Regions from separate parts of the Homo sapiens genome. Here region 1 is linked to region 2. Evidence: promoter capture Hi-C in 16 types of primary human blood cells and fetal thymus (Javierre and others, 2016). All regions are on one chromosome and are shown on one strand. Each heading gives the region's core, a stretch centred on a gene start or on the middle of the fragment in contact. The rest is flanking DNA. Distances are from core to core; before and after follow the strand shown.

Evidence for each region. The method cuts DNA at HindIII sites, captures the fragments that hold promoters and counts their contacts. A CHiCAGO score of 5 or more calls a contact.
Region 1: a fragment that was not itself captured here is called in contact with the fragment with the promoter of ZNF366 in region 2 in 1 of 17 cell types (monocytes); the score reaches 5.7 in monocytes.

Annotation. Positions count from the first base shown.
Region 1 is chr5:72,300,761-72,307,816 of GRCh38, reverse strand. All of the region lies in intron 2 of MRPS27 (mitochondrial ribosomal protein S27), which reads left to right. Among named protein-coding and RNA genes, the nearest start is that of MRPS27, 16 kb to the left of the region's middle. RefSeq lists enhancers at 5,741-5,970, 5,530-6,485. The HindIII fragment of the contact is 2,782 bases long and covers 1-2,641 here.
Region 2 is chr5:72,505,005-72,511,863 of GRCh38, reverse strand. ZNF366 (zinc finger protein 366) reads left to right here and starts at 4,454. Exons shown (of 5, transcript NM_152625.3): 1 at 4,454-4,613. The HindIII fragment of the contact is 5,585 bases long and covers 3,530-6,859 here.

The DNA of each region.
Region 1 (7,056 bases), core at 1-2,500, 200 kb after region 2:
TGATGAATTACCACAAAGCGAGTAAACCTGTGTAGGAAGCAAGAGCATTCCTACCGCTCCAGAAGCCCTTATTGCGGCCCCCACTTAGTCTCTCCAAAGGTAACCGGTATCCTGACTTCTAACGCCACAGATTTTTTTTTTTTAGTGTTTTAACATTTGAAGGTGTAGACACCTTGGTATAAGGAGCCCCCTTTACCCATCACCTGGCTTCAACAATTATCAGCTCTTAGTCTTTATTTTATCTTTATTACTGTTTCCCCATCCCGATGCTTTGGATAATTTTGAAGGAGATCCCAGGCAGTAAGTCATTTCATCCGTAAATATTTTGATACAGATCTCCAAAAGACAAGGGTGCTTTTCAATACCATTATCACACCTAAAATATTAATAGGGTTGTAAATATCACGAAATATCCAGTTAGTGTTCAGATATCCCTGATACTCTCTTTCTTATTTTATTTTATTTTCTTAGAGCCTTGCTCTTGTCGCCCAGGTTGGAGTGCAATGGCACGATCTCAGCTCGCTTAAACCTCCTCCTCCCAGGTTCAAGCGATTCTCCTGCCTCAGCCTCCCGAGAAGCTGGGATTACAGGCGCCCGCCACCATGCCCGGCTAATTTTTGTATTTTTAGCAGAGATGGGGTCTTGCCTTTTTGGTCATGCTGGTCTCGAACTCGTGACCTCGTGATCCGCCCACCTCGGCCTCCCCAAGTGCTGGGATTACAGGCGTGAGCCACCGCTCCTGGCTCAGGTATCCCTGATACTCTCAAATTTTTTTTTTTATGATTTGGTTGAATCAGGATTCAAATAAAGCCTCGTATAATACAATTGGTTGCTATGTGCCCCCGTTAACTCTTTCTGAATCTTTTTAATAGAAACATACAGAAGTAGAGAGAGTAGAATAAACCCCTGTGTACTGTCACCCAGCTCCAGCAATTATCAATTCCCTACCAGTGTTGTTTCATCAACTCCCCACCTGTTCACCAGATTACTTTTTAACAAACTTAATTATCGGGGTTTTTTTATATGTACTTTGATATGTACCTCTAAAAGATAAGGATTTTTAAAAACGTAATTAATCATACTATTCTAAAAAACTAGTACTTCTGTAATATTAAATATTCCATTAATGTTCACATTTTCCCAAATGTCTTATAAATTTCTTTTTAATTTAGTTTGTTGAAATGTGATCTAGATAAGGTCCATACCTTGCAATGTGTTGAGTTGTCTCAACTATCTTAGTTTGTAAGTTTTTTGCAATTTATTTATTGAACAAAACAGGTCTTTTTTGGAGTTTCCCACATTCTAGATTTGCTGATTTCATCCTTATTGTGGTGTTTAGCGTGCTCCTCTGCCTTCCATATGTCTTGTGAAACTGGTAGTTGGAGAAAGGGGCTTGATCAGATTCAGGACTTTTTATTTTGTCTTTTGGTATAAATACTTCATAGTAAGTGTTTACTTGTGTCAGTAAGCACACAGCATTTGATTGCCCCTCTGCGAAGTTAAAGGCCATTCATGATCTTTACTTAGATTTGTTATTTCATTTGAAGCTGCATACTATTGCTGTTTAAATTTTATCATTTCTTTTCATTTATTATCTAGGAAATTTTTATGACAGAACTTCCATTCATCAACAGTTTACTTACCCTGAAATAGTTTGTATATGAGTTAGCTTTCAAAATAACTTGCAAAAATGATGAATGAGGACTTCTTAAAATGTCATTAAGAACTCATAGATTTAAATAATTGAGACATTTTAATCCATTGCTGTTGATACTTTTATTGATAGGGCCATAGTTCAACTGTGCTCTGTAGAGCCCTGGGCTTTCCTACTTCAATCAGATTTCAACTTTTGATTGTTTCTGTACTGGGCTTCCCTTTGGCTAAAATAAACACTGAGTTAAAGCATTGTCTCTGGAATTCCTCCACTAACTTGCTGATTTGTTGGGGAGGTACAGGGTAAAAGTTATCAACATTTACTAGTTAACAGAATAGGATCCACTGTGAACAGGACTCAGGAGAAAACCACTGGGGAACTGGGTAGGGTGTTGGTAGGAGGGCAGGCCTCATGGGGAAGCTCCTTGAGTTCCATGAGAGGAAGTTTTCTTGAGTCTTTCTGACAAGGAGCGAGCACTCAGGTGACTTGAGCTGAATTCAGGATTCATGAGCCCTACTGGATTAAATATTTTATTTGTGATTTTTCACATCACAAAGTATAGGACACATTTTGGTTTGGGTTACTGTTTTGCTTGTTTGTGTTGGTTTCTCTTGGTTTGTTGGTTTGTTTTCTGTTGGTTTGTTTTTGGAGAACCTCCTTTTTGAATCCAAAGAGTATTTCCTTGACACATTTGCATTCAGGTCTGTCTCTTACAGACACTTCTTCCATTTTAGCTGAGATTTAGTTTTGCTGTGTCATTTCAGCTGTAGAGGCCTTTGGCTTTTTGCATGAATATTTCAGATCCTGCTCTTGAGGCCTGATGGAGATTTTCTGAAGTCTGCTTTCTTAACTTTTGTCAGTTCTGTATTTGCATCTCTGTGGCATCTATTCATTTTCCAGTTTCCATATTTGCCAAGTTCTAGAGATGGGTCTGACTTGTGCACATCACCGTTCTTTAGTCTCATTAATATATATGTACACAAAGCTTGATTTCATGTTTTTCCTTTATTGGATTTATTTATGTTAAAGCTTCTGGTGACAGACAAATAGAAGGAAGTCTAAAAATCTATGTCCAAATTGGTTGCTAGGCTAGTTTTCCATACTTCCTTCTGTATATTCAATGCATGATATATGTCATGTGTCCTCGTTTTTCTTTTAAAATGTGGGAAACAAAAACAGTTTCAGCCTGTATTTTTCAAGATCAGTTCTTCTAGGAAGGACAATAATAATCTGTACCTGTTTCTTTATTATATAAATTAGGTAAGGTATGCAGATGACCATAAGCCCAGAAAGAGTTTAGTGTTGCCTGAAAGGTTAACAGTAATGTGCAGTTATGTAGAAAAGAAAAACTGAAACCATTTCTCACCTGAAGCTAGAAGGATTCAATAAAGGATTCATATTTTTCTTCAGTGACCTTCATTATCACAACTTTGCCCCAGAGACCACACTCTTTTTTAAGAGGCTTGTTTTTCAACACATCTGTACTACAGATTTTGTGGTTATGTACTGTGAAGCTGTGTTACTTTGGTGTGCACCAGGTTAAAATTATCTTGGCAAAATGAATTTTTGGTCATTATGTAGTGACCCACATAATCTATAAAACTGCTTTTTGCCTGTAATCTATTGTGTCTGATATTAATACAACTGTACCAGCTTTATTTTGGCTTCCTAGTGTGTTTTTAATAATTTTCAACTCTTCTGTGTTTATATGATTTATATAGCTAGCTTTTATATTTTTAACCAATCTGACAATCATTATCTTTTAACTAGAAAATTTCGTCTATTTACATTATCATTTCATGATTACCAATATAATTGGATTTATTTCTGTCACATTTTGTGATTGGTTTCATCTTTCTTTTTTTTCTTTATTTTTTATTTTTGGATTGATTTTTACTTTTGGATTGTTTTTGTTTTTTACGTTTTTTTCCCCTCCACTGGTCTGGAGATTATATCCTCTACTTTTTTAGAGATTGTTGCCCTTTAACTTCTAAAATGCATATCTAGCTTAAATTGTAATGCTCATCACACTCTACTATCCTTTAGGACACCTTAGGTCCACACACACACATCTAACCATATGCTCTTGTCTAATAATAAAGTTTTATCCTTTAAAACACATATAACATTATTTTAAACAGTCAGTTCCCCCCCAATTTAACCAATTTTATTGAGTTCTAAAAATTTCCTTTAGTATTTGTTGCTAATACATTTTCTGTTTTTGTTTGTCCAAAAATGTCTTCATTTCGCCCTTATCTTTTTTTTTTTTTTTTTTTTTTTGAGATGAGGTCTTGCTGTGTTGCCCACACTGGCCTCCAACTCCTGGGCTTAAGTGATCCTCCCACCTCAGCCTCCTGAGTAGCTGGGTCTACAAGCACATGCCAGCATACCCATATTTTGCCCTTATTTTTTAAAGATAATCTTGCTAGATATGCAATTTTAGGTTGATAGTTTATACTTGCAACATTTTGAACATTTTATTCTATTTTCTGGATTTTATCATTCCTATTGAGAAAACACCTGTTAGTATAGTTGTTTCTTTCTTTGTAATTTCTCTTTTCTTTCTGGCCACTTTTGAGATCCTCTCATTCATCGTTTTTGAAATAATAATTTTACTTTTTTGACTTGAGATTGTATACATATCCTGAATCTAGAAACCTATATTTTTTATCAATTCTAAAAAATTCTCATCATTGTCTCATCATACATTCTTATTCATATTTCTATATCTTTGCTCTTTTACAGTTCTCATTTTTATCTTTGCAGCATTCTGTGTAATTATCTGCCTTTCAGTTCACTCTCACTTCACCTGTGTCTAACCTGCTTTTTAACTTATTCATTGTTTACTTTTTACAGCTTTGATGAGGTATTCTTCACATAAAATAAACTATGTATATTTAAATGTACAATTTGATCAGTTTTGACCAATGTACAGGTGTATATGTCCATAAAGTCATCTCCATGATCAAGATAATGAGCATATGTGTCACCTGCCAAAGTTTTCTCCTATTCTTTAACCCTTTTCTCCTTCCGCTTCTGGCCCTATACCCCAAATTCCCAGGCAACCATGGATATGCTTTTTTGTTTCTATAGAATAGTTCACAATTTTTAGAATTTTATATAGTGAAGTCAACTCTTCAAACAAAATTCTCAGCTTGGTATATTTTGGATCACAAAAGAAGAGTGGATTAAATCCCCAAAGAGGCATGAGGGCTGACTTGTAGTTTATAATCTTCAGGGGACAAGTGTCCCGGTTGTTTACTTTTTAGGGTGCATTATTGTAGTGATAAGTTTTACCTTTTCACTTCAGGTGTAGTTCCCTTAGGTGGTCCTGGCTTTACCTGAGGATCTCTGAACAAGCTTCTCATCTTACAAGTATTGGTTTTATCCTCTGTCCCCATAAGTCACTGAAACTAAAGCTCTCCATCACTGTAGATCATCACATGCTCTCAAAAGGACTGCTCCCCTCAAAGGGACTGCTCCTCTAAACACTCCAAGTTCATGTTTCCATCTTGCCTTTGGCCTCTGACAGTTACATCTACCTTCTTGAAAGCTCAGTCATATATTTGGGGGAAAATTGATATTTTGTTTTATTTTTATAGTAGGAGGAATTTTTTAAAGATATTTAATTCATTTTATTCCAGCAATGGAATTCCTATTCAGTATCTTCTTTGAGCTTAGGAGCAACATCTAAGACTTCTTTTGTGTTCCCTCCCATGGTTGCTCCCAAACATAACTGACGTGCTTGATTGGCTACAATCTTCTGGGGCTATTGTTTAAGTCTCTCGTGCTACCTCAAACCCAGGGAATTAGAGTCTCCCTCTGGGTGAAAAGAATCCTAGGAATCTGAAGTTTTAAAGCCCCTCAGGCAATCTGAATCCTCACCCAGGCTTGTGGGCCATTGCACTCTTACTGGGAATAGTGCAGGGTTCTCAATACAATCTTGTATATTCTGAGATCGTTAATAGTATTGCTTTCTTCAAATGGGAAGGGCATTTTTAGTATACATTTTATTTTCTGGACATACTTCCACATTGTCTGTCTAGCTTCAAGTTTTGTTAAATGAAGAATTCAAATTTCAGATCCATTTTCCCATATAGTCTGTTGTCCACAACCATCTGCCACAGTATGTATTCCTGAGGAGCTGAATAGCAAGCAAAAAAGTATCTTCTTTGGCACATCTCTTTGAACAAAACCTGGGCATCTGCTGGCCCCTCACTGAAACATGAGGTGGGATTTTGACTGTGGAAGCCCACAGTCCAGAAGCCTGTGGCGCTGGCCCTCTGCACGCCGCAGCTGTCCCAGCTTTCCTGGCCGTCCCTGCTCTGTGCAGTTTTCTGCCTCATTCATCACGGCAGTGCTATACTGTGAGGTGATTGGCCACATGATATATTTAGCAGCAAACCTTTCTCTGACTTGGAAAATGCAAATGTTATTCATTAGATGCTGGCTTTGCAGCTGTTACCTTTTCTGAGGCTCCAGCCAATTTCACTTGACTAAAGATGCCTTGGTGCGAAGGATTCACATGCAATCTTGAGTTACCACACTACAGAGGTGATCAGTGAAGCCACCTTATTCCAGAGTTTGGTTATACATTGTGCATGATGTGAAACCCACAAAGAAATGATGGGTTTTTCATTTTAATTAGGCCATAGATCCTGATCTTGCTATTTTAAGTTAAATTGTAAATTTCAGGTAGAGGGAGGTAATTTCTCATATTGCCTCTCATCTAAACACAGAAGCCTTCATTATGAAATGATCAAAAGATTTGCTATTATGAGAGAGACATTTAACATCTGTAAGCAAGTAGATTTAATGCTATTAAGTTGCCTTAGTGTGAAGGGGGTTTAAGGACTTTTTTGTTTTTATTTTGCTTTAATCACTTGGCTTCAATCCCTTTAAGATAGTCATAAGAAAAGCTAATTGCTTTCATATCGTATCAAGTTCTAAAGTTCTAAAGTTGTTTTCCCCCAGTAGGTACTGAGTCATTGAGATCAATCCCTCAGGGAAAAAAGAGAGGAAAAAATGGTTAAATGCACAACAATAGGTTTTCAACAAATACTTATTACTTGATCATTTCTGGTGTGTCCTTATTACTTGATACCAATTTCTTCCACCAGGGAGTAAACAAACCTTGGAAACCCAATTGCTTTTTTCTTTCTTCCTTTTCTTCCTTTGATTCATTTCTTTAGGTATTTACTAGGTGCCTTTTATGGAACTGTTCTAGGGACTGAGAGTGTGTATATTAGTAATTATATGGATTTTATTTTTAGTGTAAGAGACAGAAAAACAACACAGATTAGCATTTATTGGTTTTTATCCTGATTGGCTGATTTATCTTTTAAAATGCTCACTCAGACTGCTGGGTGGAGATTAGATAATAAGGGTGGGGACAGTAGTTA
Region 2 (6,859 bases), core at 3,205-5,704:
TCTCTCCTCTACGAGGCAATAAAATCCAGAAGCACGTTAACCACACCTAGCATGGGGCTTCCTGGTCCATAAGACATGCTTATTAAAGGGTTGCCCAATGAACCTTTGTGTCTATTATAAACCTGTGGTTCTCCAATTTTAGGGAGCAGTCATTAGTTTTTACTATGCGACATGCAGTGCTAGTTTAGAGAGCAAGGTATGTTAGCTTTGTGGTTAAAAATTAGGGCTCCGAGCCAGAATTTCCTGGGTTTGAAATCTACTATTTGTGTGGTATCAAGGAGGTAGTATGATGTCTCCATTACTCAGTTCCTTCATCTGTAAAAAGGGCAGGGGGATGGTGGACGATAATAGCACCTACTTCATAGGACTGTTGTGATGACTAAGTTGGTTTGATGTGTGAAGTGTTTAGAAGTGTCTGGCACATGGTAAGTATGTGAAAGATGTTAACCTATTCTTATTTACTCCAAATACTGTACAAAATAGATGTGTTCTTATCCCCACTTGTCATATGAAAAAACTGGATGCATAAAATAGACTTTCTTCAATAACTTGTCTAAATGAATCCTTCATATTATCTTTTCATGCTAAAAAAAAATTTAAAAGGAAAAAAGAAATGAACATTCTCACATTTTTGAGAGTTGGGACTTGGAGGCTTTGGGGGTTTGGCAAGTTGAAGACAATAAATCAAAGAAACTAAGGAAGTTTCAAAGCAGTTTCAGGCCGGGGACTGCGCCATCCCCCCTGCACTTTCATATAACAAAACTCAGCATGTTCGTGAGAAGCCCAGAGCGGGGAGGAGAGACACATTTTCCATCGAATCTGTAGTGGAGATGGGGAGCCGCTGGAGCATGACTCAGAGCAGCAGGAACTAGCATCTCCAGGTTGCTGCAGGAAGTGAGAACAGTGGCTCCTAACCAGTGCCCAAGCGCCTCAGGAACTCTGCCAGTGTCTCCAAAGGCATGGCCGTGTCCTCAAATCAAAGTCATTTGATTTCTTTTTTTAAATCTATGCTATGCATCCCCTTTGAGAGGAAGTGAGTGCCAAAGGATACCAAACAGAAAGACTGAGTCACTGGAGTGGCCAATCTTCCTGGAGAGAGATGAGTCCTGCATCAGGCTTCTAAAAAGACATCTGGCAGGGACAAGAATATTCCTGGCAGCCCATTTGTAATGGCTCCAAACTAGAAACAATCCAATGTCTGTGTTAAGTAGAACAGACATCTAAATGGTGGTATATTCACAGAATGAAACCCTATCCAGCAATGAGAGCGAATGAGCCACAGCTACACTCAACAATAGGGACGAATCCCATGAATATACTATCGAGGCAAAGAAACCAAATGAAGTGCAAGCCAATGCCATTTTCATGTAAATTCAAAACCAGGTAATGTGCATCCATGTCAGGTGCTGGAAGTCAGGGCACCTGAGAGGAGGTAGTGACAGGAGGGGCTTGGGGGGCCTCTGTCCTCTTTCTTAATCTGAGGGCTGGCTACTCAGATATGTTCCTTTTGTGAAGTTCCCTGACCGGTACACTTACGTTTTGTGTACTTTTCTGAAGAATATGTTCTATTCCAAACCTTTCTCCATTTTCTCCTACGCTGCTACCTCCATGACCTGAAGTCAAGTTAGTCTGGGAGTCAACAGATAACCCCAGAGTCTGTGTCATTGGAAGCTGGTGCCATACAAATTAGGACGCTTCAGAGGCAGGACGCCATTTTGAGTAGAGCACCTATTTCTGTGGTGCTGGTTCTGAGGGTTAGGGTCACAGCACTGTCCTCACCTAGGTTTCTCTCCTGTCCTCCTATCTCGTCCCAGGGGTGGGCAGCTCCTCTCTCTACTCAAGTGATCTCTATGATACGCTGTGCAACATGGGGCTTTCCTGAGGGGTGAGAGCCAAGGCCATATGCCATTCCTGCTCATGCGTCTCAGTTGGATCCTTCACTTTTAGTCAGGATCCAGATAGGCCAGGACAGAGTTAGAGCTCCAGTGGACTGATCAGAAATCTGTCCTGCCAAACCTAATGGGAGGGTTAGGAATTTCTGCTCCTGACACCCAGTGGGTGGTTTCACAAGTTTTAGAGGGTGACTGTTCAGGTGACTGGCAGCACAAGGAAAGAGGGAAAAGCCTTTTCTGTGAATTTCACAGGCAGGGTTGCAACGCGGTGTGAGCATGGAGCAGCTTGGCACAAGGCAGCCTTGAGAGTCCCCTGGCTGGCTGCGGGGATGATGTCAGATCCCGACTGGATGCTGCCCCATTCAGTCAAAGCCGTGCAGCCTGAAATGGCACATGTCCCCATCCAGGCTGTCTGGGCGGGTCAGCTGGCCTGGAGACAACAACACAGCCTCAACGTGACAGTCCCCACATTCTGCAGACTTAAAAGGGAAATCCTTTGGATTCTGCCTGGACTCCTGGGGCTCAGCCCTGGCCTTGCCTTGAGGGTGCAAAGAGGAGTAAAAATATGGGAAGGCCTGTGTGCAGCTGCAATGGATTCTTCAAGTGATCAGAGGCGGTTTCCTGCCTGTGAGGAGTTGGTACCATGAGCGTCTTGTTCCTTGGGTCCCTCCTTTCCTCTGCTGCTGATGCCCCGCACACCTTGCCCCCTCCCTATTGCTTCTCCTCACCCCACCTCACTCCCAAGGACGTCTGCTTTTTTATTGTGAATTTCAGCTGCCTGCTTGTTTCACCTCCGGTTACTCAAAGGTTTGCCCCAGTGTTTCTCCCCCTTTAAAAGACTCCATTCCTAGGCCTTCCTGCTCCATTCCCTCATGCCCTTCCCTGGCTTTCTCAGATTTTCATTTTCATTTCCCTTCCCATTTCTACAAAGGCAGGATGTAGAGGAAGGCCAGCAGAGGGCAAAGAGCCCGAGAGCCGGGATCAGGAGACAGGAACGTGTTGGCGTGTGGCTCTAAGCGAACCAAAGAGACTGTCTCTGGTCATCCGTGTTCCCCACTGTTGGTGAGGCTGGGTCACCCAGGCCAGAACTCAGTGCCATGGGTTGTGCCAGTGTTGGTGCTGTGGCGGATGCAAGGAATGGGACTCTGCTCTGGCTTGTGCACACCTACCGAGTAACAAAATCTTCATGTCTCTCTCTGATACATGCACACATATTCAGATAACTAGATAGACAGGGAGATAGATAGATATATGGATAGATTAGATAGATAGATGATAGATAGATAGATAGATAGATAGATGATAGATAGACAGATAGATGATAGAAAAATATCTGTCAGAATAAAAACATAATCCTATAGGCCAATAAGGACTCAATCAAAATCTTACAGGGTCACTGAATCAGAATCATTCTTCCCCTGAACTCACTTTCATGACTCTTTGCAATCAGGTGTATCTGTCCACCCCATTTTTTTCACAGTTGGGTGAAATGAGGAAGTAGTGTAAGGCTGGTTTTTCTTTTGCTGCCACAAAGGTCTACATAACTGCTGGTTCCTGTTCACAGTGAAAATGGTCCTAACCAGATGAATAAGGGACACAAGAGACATAACACAAATCAGAGAAGTTAAAACCAAGCTTATTCCTAAGTGCAACTAGCCTAAGCAAGCTCATGCCTGCCTGCTGAAGCCCCAAGTCTTCTACCTTGATAAAGGTTACTCCCTCCATTTTAACTGCTCCTGCCTCCCCTATCTTTTTTCGAACACCATGGCTGATTTATCTAAACCCTATGCTGCTTCACAGTATTTTGAAAACAAATTAGAAATCTCCTTCCAGTTTTCCAGAGGTGATTAAATCCAAGACGCCTTAGGAATGTAGAGGATAGAATAATATAAACAACAGATCTGAGATAACCATGGCCGGCAGCAGTTGTGGTTAGTTGCTTCTTTTCCTTTTTCATCCATCAGTGATGGAAGCTGGATTGGGTCCACTGTATAAAGTTCGGTGGGCATAAATCTGCTATTTGATCCTGGAAAAACTCTAAGGATCTAGAGTCAGCGAGGAATTGCAGCAATGCTGGTGTTTCAAAGGGCCTAAGAAAAGCCAGGAGTCCTGGCTGCCCAGCCCCGACACTGTCTTACAGGCTGCAGGTTTACCTTGGTTAGCACAACAGGCCAAGCTCTCCCTTGCTCTAAGTCGACATGACATGATTTGTTCCCTTTCGGCTGTGTCAGTTCTGCAAACCAGATACCAGAGGCTGCAGGCTCAGGAGAGCCTGCCTGTCTGGAACACCGTTTGTTTGGACAGGACAGGCCACTAAGGCGTTTCATCTCTTTAAAGCTCCCAGGGCAGAGAACATATTTGAGGAATTCCTTTTTTCAAAGATTTTTTTTTTTTGCCCCTTCCAACATTTTGTTTAAGAGAAAATGAGATGTCTATCTTCTGTTTCCTTATTTTTTTTCAGGAAAGCAAAGGGTTGTTGACTTCCTCCCTCTCCCCTCCCTTCCTTCCTTCTTCCCGAAGGTACTCATCTGAGAAAAAGAGAACGAAGTATTGTTCCTGTTCTCTTTCTTAAGTCATTCGAAACACTGTCCCTGCGAGTTCTTTAAGTTCCCTGCAATCTGTACACAAGAGAAAGAGGGAGAGAGAGAGGGAGAGAGACAGAGAGAGCAGGGATCAGGTAAAGGAGTGGGGCTGCTGCAGCCATTCAGACCTCAGGAGCTGGTAAGTTACCCATGCAATCATTTCTGCTTCCTTTTCAAGGTTCCTGGGTGGATACTGCTGTGGGCATCTTCAACAGAAAATACCTTACTGGGAGTAGTCCTTAACCAAAGGGTATAAGTGATAGATGGCCCAGAATTTCAGCTAATACTTTTTTTTGGTAAGAGAATACTGATGCTTTGCAGAACTAAGGCTGGCAAAACTAGAAATAGAATTACATTGGGACTAAAGAGGACACTGCGTTAAATCTGAATTTTGGCACAGATCATGTGGCTGGGAGAACCAGGAGCCACTGGCGTGTGAGATGTGTCCCACTGGAGAATTTGCTCTTCCTCAGTACTGTGTCCTGGGAGCCTTATCAGGGTGTCTGTTAAGGACTGTGGTTTGCTCTGGGGTTTTTGTTAATACGTTACCTGGATTGAGGTGCCCTTCTCCTGTTCTTTTCTTTCCATTCAGCATCCCCCTAAAGGAGGATTGTTAATTGTTATATGATGGTTATTCTGCATCACTGAAGTAGAAGGGAAAGAGAGAAGGGAATGTCACTTGGAAATAGTTCTGCATGTGGGGAGCTTATGTGTTCAGGTTCCCCATGCGGGTTGAGTGTAAATTTATTATTCACTGTCAGTGGAAGATGTCATCTGCCACATGATAGAAGGCAAAGGTTTTGGGGCATATAGCTTTAGTTTTGGAAAACAATATGCAGCTAGAATGGGAGGATTAAGATGGATCATTTATGTCAGTAGGAGGGAAAAACTAAGTTACAGACGCAATTGAAAAGCATTCACCCAGTGCCTGGTTTTCCAAGCACCAAATAGGGCGTAGCAAGCTAGTCAAGCTAACATACACAACTAGTTTTTAAAAGTCTAACTTGCTTCAATTAGATTAGTCATAAAGGATAATGTTACCAGCACCTATCATCGCAAGCCATGAGGGAGCCGAAATCATGTTGTCAAAAATAGGTCAGCAAGGTCACTCCGAGAGACTCGTTATGTTTCCCAATATTAATACTTTAATTCAGAGAGATGCCGAATGGGTAAAAGCCAATGGCCAAGCATACTTTTTAAAAATATTCACTGCTATGAAATTTACTGATTGAAATCACCTGGGATGTGAAGAATAAGATAAAAATAGCTGGACTCTCATTTTAAAAATTAATTTGGCTAGACTATGCTTTAACCACATTCAAGTAATTAATCTTTATTCAAAATTGAACCATCATCTTACTAAGGATGAGAAAACATGACAGAACTAGACTGTGATGTAGCTTTTGTTCCATTAGTCAGACCTCTTTTTTCTTCTCCTTTTTTCAAGGATTTTCTTTAGGAGCATCATAAAACGAGCAATGTAAAGAGACGTGAATAGCGTTTGCCAGCTTGCGGATGCAAAATTATTCTAATAACAATTGAAAGTGTTTTACTGCTACCCTACCACCTCCCCTAACTACTCCATTTCCATAGATCTTCAGATCAAGAGGTAGCTGGAATAGATTGTCGAGGGCATTATTGCATCATTTATCAGCAACTGTGGCCCCAGAAGAAAACGCAGGTCTGCGATCTTGACTTGCTCCTTTCAGTTTCATTTCTCTTGATAATGTATTGAATTTTGTGCTCAACTAAAACAACATCACAGAACACATTCTAGTTTTGTTTACTGAGTAAAAGCATCAGATGCAACACAATAGGAAACAAATGACAGCAGAGTCATTTGTTAAAGACAAGGAAGGCAATTAAATTAAAGACAAGGAAAGCACAAGGTGGGTAGGCCAGTGGCTCAGAAAACAGCCCCACTGCTAGCATGACTATGGCTTGAGATTAAGAAGCTGAGGATATGCAGTTTTCTTTTAAAGAAAAAAGTGTATTCAATATTTCCATTTAAGTTGTTAAGTCATTGCTGTGAAAATATTTCTTGGATACTGGGGGAAATGAATTTTAGCTACCCGAAGAATAAAAGCCATCGACTAGTTTCATCGAAGTCACTACCACTCAATCTATCTTTACTCACTCACCGCCAAAGAGTGAGTTGGCATTTGTGGAAACTTCCAGTGTGTGATTATTTGGGGGTCATCAGAGGCTCTTTTGTGATATCATTGGGGGAATTCCAGTTTGAAGTGATCCAGAATTTGAGACACACAGTATTTTATTCGTTAATTTCTGCCAAAACTGTACACATAACTAAATTACAATTTCTTATACACATTTTAAATTATGTTAGGATGTGTGTCCTGTAGATCTGTGTGCTGGGATGTGAGT